2 separate regions of the Homo sapiens genome follow, and region 2 is linked to region 1. Evidence: promoter capture Hi-C in human tissues and cell types (Jung and others, 2019). All regions are on one chromosome and are shown on one strand. Each heading gives the region's core, a stretch centred on a gene start or on the middle of the fragment in contact. The rest is flanking DNA. Distances are from core to core; before and after follow the strand shown.

Region 1 (5,212 bases), core at 571-3,070:
TTTCCTGAGGTTGCCACTTGTGTTTTTTGTATTTCAGTGGCCCCCTGCCAGGCTTTGAGTGTTTATTCCCGAAGGGCATATGGCTGCTGGAAACTGGAGGTGGGAAAGATTGAAGAGGATTTGAAAAAGCCCCAAAGAGCTAGAGGAATGAGAAATGCACAGAGATGTCAAAGCAACAGGTAATGAGAGAGACCAGAGTCTAAAGGAAGGACACTGAGCAAATTTTGTGATGTCCGGTTCAAGTCCAGAGAAGAGTGACAAAAAGCCATTGTTATCTAATAACAACCCCCCGCCCGCCCCCCCCACCCCCAGCTCCTCGAGAAAGCTCTGTCTTGCCACGTCTCGACAATTTTGTCAAAGTTACAACCTGGTCATAAGCTTTAATGAGAAACATGCACCCTGCTGAGGTCAGGAGTTCGGGACCAGCTTGGCCAACATGGTGAAACCCCGTCTCGAAATACAAAAATTAGCCAGGCATGATGGCGGGTGCCTGTAATCCCAGCTACTTGGGAGGCTGAGGCAGGAGAATCACTTGAACCCGGGAGATGGAGGTTGCAGTGAGCTGAGATAGCACCATTGCACTCCAGCCACGGTGACAAAGCGAGACTCCATCTCCAAAAAAAAGAGAGAGAGAGAGATCTGTTCAAATCATGAGAAATGCTGAGACCAGAACACCTGCCTTTGACTCCTGTCTTCCGAATGCCAAGCTTCACCCATCCCTTTTCAACAAGTGCAAACCCATTTCAGGAGAGGGCACCGAATCCATCTTGAAAGGACTTGCTCCGAGTTTCAAAGCTGACGCTTTTAAGCTCTTAAATTCCCCTTCCAACAAACAAGCCAATAGTATGTTGGCATGCATTCATATAAGCAGGCTTGGCCCACGCCATATTTATTTAGTCTTCATAACTAGATGTACTAGAGGGTGTGAAGAATAAACCAGCACATCAGCCTTATTGAATATGCTTCCGACCAAAACCATCATTGGTTTGCCTTTCAAAGCCTAATCTAAGAGTCTCTGTCAAGAGTCTCATCTCTTCCTTAGAAGGAGCTCTTTCCCCAGCTCTGGCCCTCCCCACCAAGCTTGGAGCATGGGCCTCACCTGTGCACTTGCAGGTCCGGTGGAAGAATTTTCTTGGCCACAGCTCACGGTCATCCTGGTTTCGTAGGATGTAGGGACCACTCCAGGGCCTTGTGTCGGCTCGCACCTCTGTGCACTGCCCCCGGCCTTGCTGAGAGCCACAGACATTGGCCGACTCTGCACCCAGGCGTGGGCAGCACTCCTTGTTCACTAGGCTGTCCACCGTCATGCAGACTCGGGGGAACTGACCCTGGGCTCCTGGCAGGATTTTGCAGCCCAAGCAACTGAGCAGAAACCCCCACCAAAGGGGGCTCATGGCTTTATAATTGGGAGAGCTCTCTCTCTCTCTTACTTTCCTTGTCTCTGTCGTACTTTTCTCCTTATCTTCTACTCTTTCAGTCTTTTCTTTTCAGTATTTTTTATTTTTCTTTGCTTTCTATTCCTTTCTTCTTAAAAAAATACCCACAAGAATCACAGAGGTTACATGTGTGCACATGTGTACATGAACGTGCACACACAATTTTATGTGATTCAAACAACTAACAGACTTAATTTCCTTAGAAGCGCCTCTAACAACCAAATTTAATGAGGGTAGCGCTTCTCACCATCTTCCCCCGTTAAGTCAGGCTTTGTCTAATTGAGTTAATTTACAGAGCACCCAGTCATACTACTTATTATGCTGGTATTTCTAAACCCTCTCCCTCCCTCCTTAGCTCTTGACTTTAATTGCCTTGAACTCAGTTCAAAAGCCAAACACCGTGCTGCTTTTATTCTCTCTGGCTTGCCAAGCCACGGGGCCTTGGGGGCTTGTGTAAGGGCTGGGAGAAGCCTTCATTAGGGGGATTAGTATTACAGAAACCCTCATCATTAGCACATGACCCAAAGTGCACAATAAAGGAGATCACTTCTGGCTTTATTTCAGGAGGGCAAAACCATCTTCTTTATCTGGGCTCATGTGCTCCAGCCAAACTTGTGACCTCAGACATCCTGGGGAGTCAGTAGATGCAGTGAGCTCTTCGTCAAAGACCCTTTACACAGAAGCTCACATTGCCAACTACAATGCACTCATGGCTGCTTTCTGACATGTGTGCAAAAAAGACCACAACAGGGGGTCATGCAACTTCAAAAATAAAGAAACATTTATGTAGAACCAGGGTACAAGGAATTGCTTTGTTCCACAATTGGGAATCCTCTTCCCTCCAAATAATAACTTACTCTTCTCCTATTCAGCACATCTACGCAGCAATTTTTTTTTAATTACATGAAGTAGCATGCCACCAGAAACTCACAATTGTCATTATCTGATTGTATGGAAGGCACTGGAACCATTTGGAATGAAGGCTTGCAAGCAAATCTTTTTGATTAGACTAAAGTGAAGCATGACTGAGCTTCAGTCTAGAAAGCAATGCCTCCTGGTGCTTCTGGAGAATGGTCAGGTCAGCAATGGTGGCCACCTGTCAGAACATCCATTTATTTTTTCACAGTGGAAACAGGACTGTCTTGGTAACTGTTTCACAGTGGAAACAGGACTTAGTGCCACAAGGATGCGAAACGGCTTCAGCTAGTTTCTAAGAATATACTTGAATGTAAAGACACATATTGTTATGTTTCAAAGCAAATTCCTAAGGTGAAACAATTATATAGGTATTCCCACCCCCTGTACCTCTGTGCCACCCCTTGATGTTAAGTTGTTGTGACTAATTAAATGGCAATTCTTATGTCTGACTCTACACCAATATCAGCCTGTACCACAGCCCTACTGAATCAGAATCTCTGAGGATGTTCCAGACACCAACCAACCTTTGTTAGAAAACATCTAGGCAATTCTAATGCTCAGCCAGAGTTGAGAATCACTGAATCAGAATACAGCAGAGCTCCAAAGGAAATATTGCATCAGCATCAGCTAAAAGAGACCATGTGCAATAGTTTCCTGAGGCTTCTGTAACAAATGACCACAAACTGGATGACTGAAAACAACAGAAATCTATTTTCTCACTGTTCTGAAGGCCAGAAGTCTAAAATGAAGGTGTTGGCAGGACTGGCGTGTGTCAGCCAGGCGGCTGCACTCTCCCTGGAGACTCTAGGCTAGAATCCTCCTTGCCTTTTCAAGCTTCTGGCAGCTGCTGTCAATCCTTGGCTTGAAACCGCAGCTCCAATGTCTGCCACAGCCCCATGGCCTTCTCCCCATCTGTCTGTGTTTTTCCTCCATGTCTGTTTCTTATAAGGACACTTATTGGATGTAGAGCCCACTCAGATAATCCAGGATGATCTCATCTCAAGATTCTTCACTCAATTACATCTGCAAAGAAGACTCTTTTTTCCAGACAAAGTCACATTCACAGGTTCTGAGACATGGACATATCTTTTGGGGAAGTCACCATTCAACCTAACACATCATGGGTGGGAAGAAACTTGGGGTTCTAAAATCGCAAAATCTCAGGGGTTTTTGAAACCTTTATTTTGGAGCTCATTCATTCATTCCATGTATATTTATTGACTGCCACTTCATGCCAGCATTGTGACACTTGGGAATTTTATTCCAGGTTTTTGTGAAGCCTTGGGGCTCCATAAATGTTAAGATAAAATTTCTTGGATGTTAAAACTGATGGAGTCAATAATTCTTATGTCAGAATGCCCCAGGTCGAAGTCCTAGGATCTCTTTTCTTTCATTTCCACACTTGCTAGATAACTCAGCTAGTCTGAGGCCTTAAATGCAGGCTATCATGACTTTCCAAAATTACAACTCTGACTTTGACCTCAGTTGTGAGCCCCAGACTCATATTATCTAACTTCCTACTGGACCTCTCTACTTGAAGGTTTAGATATTTCTCACCCAAGTTGAGAACTTTTGCTCTCTCCTCCCAAATGTGTTCTCCATTGGTCTTCTCCATCTCCACAAAGAGCAGCATCACCACAACCCTACAAGTGATCTTTGAGTCTTCTCTTTCCCACCTCCCCATGTGTGCTTTCCAATGCACTTCAAGTAAAATCCGAGGTGCTTTGCATGTGCTACTCAAAGTGTGGCCAACAGATCCGTGAATGGTGTGTTCCTGGTTTACATCAAGTTAAGAACAATAAGAATAGAAATTGAGAGTCAACACTGGGAAATTTTCATAGCAATTTGACATTGGGATAACATTCAGGCATACGATCAGTAGTTTCATTCAAGAGGGGAGAGTCCGGCTGTGAGGTTGCCAAACGTGCATGGTGATGATCACGGAGCACAGGCTGAATGCAATGAGTCATGTGCAGTTGGATCACGTGTTAGTCTGTGGCTGGAACATTTTTCTTTTTTAATCATTTACCATGGATAGTTTGAGAACTAGCTTAAAAGATCCTCCATGATTTTTCCCTCGCCTGCCTCTCAATCTCTTCTTCTGGATGGCAGACTATTGCAATCACTATTATTCAAACATGCCCCCATTCATTTCCACCTTGGCCTTTGTCTTGCCATTCCCTCTGTCTGGAATAATCTTGCTCAGAGCCCTCAGCTTCTCAGAGAGGCCTTCCATGATATTTTAACACGTCTACAGCCAGCCACCTTCTCTCTACCACATTACCTTATTTTATTTTCTTCATAGCACTTATCACCATCTAAAGTTATCTGACTTATTGGTTAGGTGGCTGAAAGACTGTCTCATCTACTGGACTATAAGCTCCTTAACTCTGCTGTGTTTTTCCAACATGTGCAACAGTATTTGGCAAATAGAGACTACTTGATAAATAGTTGATGAATAAATATTCCCAATTCAAAACTGTATGTTCATCAAAAGGGCCTCATTATTATAGTGACTGGCTTTATACAAATTAAATGCTTTTATTTTGAATATATAAAACACTTAGGCTTATAATGACCACTATTATATTGGGGGTTTCATATTAGGTTTTATTAAACTGCTGCAAATGTTTGAAAACCACCAACCCAACATCACTACAACCCATGAACTCCCCCCTCAGTATTTCCAACAAAATATCACTAGTGAGGAGGTTCTCACAACATTTCAGGAACAGTTCTAAGGGTGAGGAAATTCTTCCTTTTCAATAAGTTTTTGGCCTGGCACAGTGGCTCATGCCTTGTAATCCCAACATTTTGGGAGGCCAAGGCAGGCAGATCACGTGAGCCCAGGAGTCTGA
Region 2 (5,871 bases), core at 3,286-5,785, 110 kb after region 1:
TTACTTACCAGACTGGCAAAAATTCAAAAAGTTGACAAATCACTTAGTTGTTGAGGCTGTTAGGCAAAAGACACTTTGTACACTGACAATGATGATGTAAAATGTTTACAATTCCCTAAGGAAGGAAACTTGGAAATATCTAGTCAAATTACATAGGCATTTCCCTCTAACCCAGAGTTATGGGCTAAACTGTGTTCTCCCCATAATTCATCTTAAGGCCTAACCCCTTCCCCCAGAACCTCAGAATGTGACTATATTTGGAGATAGGGCTCTTAAGGAGGTGATTAAGTGAAAATCAGGTCTTTAGGATGGGTCCTAATCCGATCTACCTGGTGTCCTTAAAAGAAGAAATGTGGACTCACTGTGTGTTTTGGAATAAAGTAAATGAGTAATTAGGATGGTGCTGTTGAGAACCAAGGTGTTCAGGGTATGGAAAAGATGATATAAATGAAAGACTGAAGAACTTAAACAAAAAATCTCAATGCGGATTGGACATTTCAGTATAAACCCATGTCATATTTAATCTTAAGTAAATAGGCAAATAATATTCCCTAGTTTTGTTAACTGAAAAAGCCTTGACACAATGTCCAATCAGTTAATAAGCACTCCCAGTGCCCAGACTGTGGCCTCTAAACACCATTTCCCACCAAAAGGAACAATGGCTCCTGACAGAAAGGGCTGATTCCAGATCTAGGGGGAAAAACATTGAAGATAAAACTGAAACATCCTATCAAACCAGAAAGTTAGATGGTTGTCAAAGACTGCTAAGGTCATGTCAAAAAGGACTCAGGAAGCAACTAGAAGAGCCTCTCAATGGCTAATGGTGAGTCATTTTGAACATAAATAAGAAAAATAACTGCAAATGATTAAAACAAACAAAATCAAATGTGTTAAAATCTACAAATTCATAGCAATATTAAGAAAAAAGAAAAATGAGGATGCTTGGAAACCAACTCATTATAGTAAAATCTACTAAATAAATAAAAATAATCAGGCACTTAACCTGGCTTTTCCATAACAATTAAATCTCAAGGTAACCAAATAATGTATAAGGAAAACTTTTTTTTTTTCTCTCTCTCTCTGTTGCCCAGGCTGGAGTGTAGTGGCGCAATCTCAGTTCACTGCCACCTCTGCCTCCCAGATTCAAGCCATTCTTGTGTCTCAGCCTCCCGAGTAGCTGGGGTTACAGGTGCCCACTACCACGCCCAGCTAACTTTTTTGTATTTTAGAGATGGGGTTTCACCATGTTGGCGAGGCTGGTCTTGAACGCCTGACCTCAGGTGATCCACCTACCTCAGCCTCCCAAAGTGTTGGGATTACAGGCGTGAGCCACTGCGCCTGGCTGGAAAACTTCTTTTTATGTAGATATTCCAGGTATAAATGAAGAATGACATAATTAGGATATCATTTTGTAAACCCCTAATATAATGACTACTGACTATATAAAATAGTAATAATGTCATCTAGTGGAAATAAAAAAACAAAATAAAATAAGATCAATTTAAAATTCCAGGCAGGACATGGTGGCTAATGCCCGTAATCCCAGCACTTTGGGAGGCCCAGGTGGGTGGATCACCTGAGGTCAGGAGTTTGAGACTAGTATGGCCAACATGGCAAAACCCCGTCTCTACTCAAAATACAAAAAAATAAACCGGGCGTGGTGGCACACGCCTGTAATCCCAGCTACTTGGTAGGCTGAAGCACGAGAACTGCTTGAACCTGGGAGGCAGAGGTTGCAGTAAGCCGAGATCACAACACTGCACTCTGGCCTAGGTGACAGAACAAGACTCTGTCTCAAAAAAAAAAAAAAAAAAATCCAGATAAAAACTGAGTTAAAAATAGCTAAAAATGGAGTTGGAAATTAAATAGGAAGAGGGCAAAGGTTTTGATGAACTTTACACTTTGATAAGCTAATTACACATCTGTAATTTGTAGAGTAACCACTCCAAGAGTACAAACAGAACATATAATTTCCAAACTAGTAGAGGGAGAAAAAGAGAATAAGAAAAATTCCTCAGTCAAATCCTTAAAAAAAGCAAGCAAGCAGTTTTTTAAAATAAACAATTTTTTACAAAGGAATAATTCTTTTTTTTAAAAAAAGTAAGCAGCAACCAAGGAAACAGAACAGGTGGGAAAAGAAAGCGTACAGTAAGATGGTAGAAATAAATCCAAATACAGCAACAAACTAAACACTGAGGGCAAATGCCGAGGAGGGTCAGAATGGGTTTAAAAAAATCAAAATCCAAATACATGTTGTTTACAAGACATGCAGCTAACCCATAAAACTAGAGAAAGTTTGGAAATAAAAAGATGGAAAAAGTATCATGAAAATACTAACCAAAAAGGAAGTAACACAGCTATATTAATGTCAAACAAAATAGATTTTAAAGCAGTACACATCACCGGGGAAAAAAGATCACTTCATAAGTATAAAAGGTTCAATTCACCAGAAATATACAAGAGATTTAAAGAACATCATTAACCAACTTAACCTAATGGATGTGTAAAGAACAATGGACCCAATGTTTGCAAGTTAACATTCTTTTCAATACACACACGATTTACGGAAAGTGACCATATACTGAACCAAAAAGCAAGTCGTAGCATAAAGGACTACAATCATAGAGTACGTTATCTAATCACATACAATTAAGCTAGAATTCCATAAGAACAAGAAAACCCATACATGTTTGGAAATTAAGACATACGTGTCTAAGTAACCCACGGATGAGAGAAGAAATCAAATTATTTTTTTTTTTTTTTTTTTTTTTTTGAGACAAGGTCTCATTCTATTGCCCGGGCTGGAGTGCAGGGGTGCGATCTCAGCTCACTGCAACCGCCACCTCTTGGGCTCAAGTGATCCTCTCACCTCAGCCTCCCAAGTAGCTGGGACTACAGGCACATGCCATCATGCCTGGCTTTATTTTTTATTATTATTTTTTGTACAGACAGGGTCTCACCATGTTGCCCAGGCTGGTCTGGAACTCCTGGGCTCAAGTGATTCGCCTGCCTTGGCCTCTCAAAGTGCTAGGATTACAGGTGTTAGCCACTGCACCCAGCAAGAAATCAAACTCTTAAAAGATAATGAAAAAATACATATGAAAACCTGTAGGATTCAGATAAACCAGTATTTAGAAGTAAATTTATAGTCTAAAATGCATACATTAGAGAAAACGTGAAAATTAATAAGCTAAATATATCACAAAGATTAGAAAAAAGAATAGAAAGTAAGCCTAAACAAAGTAGAAATAATGAAATAATAAAGGTAAGACCAGAAATTCATTATATAGAAAACAAACACGCATAAGAAAAGATCAACAATGTCAAAGATTGTTTTTTTGGAACAACAATGTCAAATGTCAAATGTTGTTTTTTGGAACAACAGGGTGGGAGGTTTGCTTTGCTGGTATAAAGAATTATTATAAAGCTACAGTAATTAAGACAGTGTGATAATAGTATAAGCACAGACAAAGACCAACAGAATTGAATAGAGCCGAGAAACAAAAGCATACGTATATAAACATTTGACCCATGACAAAACTGACAATGAGGAAAAGTCAAGTCTTTTCAATAAATGATTTTGAGTCAAATTGATATGGGTATGGGGAAGAAATCTAAATGTAAAAGGAAAAACAATAACTTTTAAGAAAAGAATTATAAGACAACATGTCCATGACCTTGGAGGTGGGAAATGAGTTCTTAATCAAGACAGAGCCGGGTGCGGTGGCTCACGCCTGTAATCCCAGAACTTTGGGAGGCTGAGGCGGGTGGATCACGAGGTCAGGAGATCGAGACCGTCCTGGCTAACACGGTGAAACCCCGTCTCTATTAAAAATACAAAAAATTAGCCGGGTGTGGTGGCGGGCGCCTGTAGTCCCAGCTACTCGGGAGGCTGAGGCAGGAGAATGGCATGAACCCAGGAGGCAGAGCTTGCAGTGAGCCGAGATTGCGCCACTGCACTCCAGCCTGGGTGACAGAGCAAGACACTCCATCTCAAAAAAAAAAAAAAAAAAAAGAGACAGAAAGAGCACTACCCCTAAAGAAAAAGGTAAAGATAAATTAACCCACATTGTAATTAAGAACTTTCACTAATAATAAGACACCATTGAAAACGGGAAAAGGCTGGGCGTGGTGGCTCACGCCTGTAATCCCAGCACTTTGGGAGGCTGAGACGGGTGGATCACCTGAGGAGGGTGGCTCGTCTGAGGTTGGGAGTTCAAGACCAGCCTGGCCAACATGGTGAAACCCCATCTCTATCAAAAATACAAAATTAGCTGGGCGTGGTGGCGCATGCCTGTAATCCTAGCTACTCAGGAGGCTGAGGCAGGAGAATCGCTTGAATCTGGGAGGCGGAGGTTGCAGTGAGCTGAGATCATGCCATTGCACTCCAGCCTGGGCAATCAGCGAGACTCTGTCTCAAAAAAAAAAAAAAAAAAAAAAAAAAAAAGAATGCAAAAAGGCAAAGCAGACTGAAAAAAAGGTAGCTGCAAAAGGCTTGGATCCAAAATACATAAAGGACTTATAAAAATCTATAAGGAAAAAACTGACAACCTAATAGGAAATGGTCACGAAACTTAAATGGAAATTTTCCAAAGAGGATATACTAACAAAGAGAGGGAGAATAGTCCAATAAACAAATGGAAAGGTTTTTAACTTCATCAGGGAAAAATAAAACCACAAAATTGACACAGCAAGTGTTGGCAAGCATCTCATAAATTGCTGGTAGAAGTGCACAACTGCTTTTATCATTAACCAAGTAGAAGGACTTGCTTTAACAGACATGAAATCATTGTATTCGTCAATATAGTGCGTAATCAGACAGGCAGAGACAAATAAATGAAGAGAGACAGAGATACAAAAATAAACTTGATATGACGGAGGGCAGAAACTGGTGAACTTTTCAATAAATGGTACAGGAACAATTGGTATTCACATGGAAAAACATGAAATTGGGGTTATATAAGAATTAATTTCAGATGGATTACAAATCTAAACATAAAAGACAAAATTATAAAGCTTTGAAAAGATAATATACAAAAATACATCTTCGTGACCTTGGGGTAGGAGAGAATTTAAGAACTGAAAAAGCATTAAGCATAAAGGAAAAAACATACATTGAAAACATCTGTTCATCAAAACACACTGTCAAAAAAGTGAGAAGATAGGCCATACAGAGAAGGCTCTGTAACATATGTAATGATAAAGAACTAGTGTCCTGAATATATAAAAACTCTACTTGCCATTTTTTCTCATTGAAACTTCTCTTTCAATGAGAAAAAGGTAAACAATCCCATTTTAAAATGGACAAAAGATTTCTTTTTTTTTTTTTTTAAGATGGAGTCTCTCTGTCACCCAGGCTGGAGTGCAGTGGTGCAACCTCAGCTCACTGCAAGCTCTGTCTCCCGGGTTCACGCCATTCTCCTGCCTCAGCCTCCCGAGTAGTTGGGACTACAGGCGCCTGTCACCACGCCCGGCTAATTTTTTGTACTTTTAGTGGAGAAGGGGTTTCACCGTGTTAGCCAGGATGGTCTCGATTTCCTGACCTCGTGATCCACCCGCCTCAGCCTCCCAAAGTTCTGGGATTACAGGCGTGAGCCACCGCTCCCGGCCAAAATGGACAAAAGATTTCAACAGCATTTCATAAAGGAGAAATCCAAATTACAAAAAATCATATGAAAAGTACTTAATCTTATTAGTAATCAGGGAAAATACAAATTAGAAACATGAGAAACCACTACACAGCACTGAAATTGGCAAAAATGGAAAGACTGACAAAACTAAGATTTGGTGATATCTGGAGCAACAGGAAGTCACACACTTCTGGAGGAGTGGAAGTTGGTATAATTACTTTGGAACATGTTTTGACATTAT

Evidence for each region. Contacts are between HindIII fragments. The study calls those that stand out against the background at their distance.
Region 2: a fragment that was not itself captured here is called in contact with the fragment with the promoter of DCT in region 1 in 4 of the 25 tissues and cell types used here (lymphoblastoid cells, neural progenitor cells, pancreas and 1 more).

Annotation. Positions count from the first base shown.
Region 1 is chr13:94,477,862-94,483,073 of GRCh38, forward strand. DCT (dopachrome tautomerase) reads right to left here and starts at 1,821. Exons shown (of 8, transcript NM_001922.5): 1 at 1,100-1,821. The coding sequence starts at 1,394. The HindIII fragment of the contact is 3,749 bases long and covers 894-4,642 here.
Region 2 is chr13:94,584,004-94,589,874 of GRCh38, forward strand. All of the region lies in intron 4 of TGDS (TDP-glucose 4,6-dehydratase), which reads right to left. Among named protein-coding and RNA genes, the nearest start is that of TGDS, 9.2 kb to the right of the region's middle. The HindIII fragment of the contact is 8,575 bases long and covers 249-5,871 here.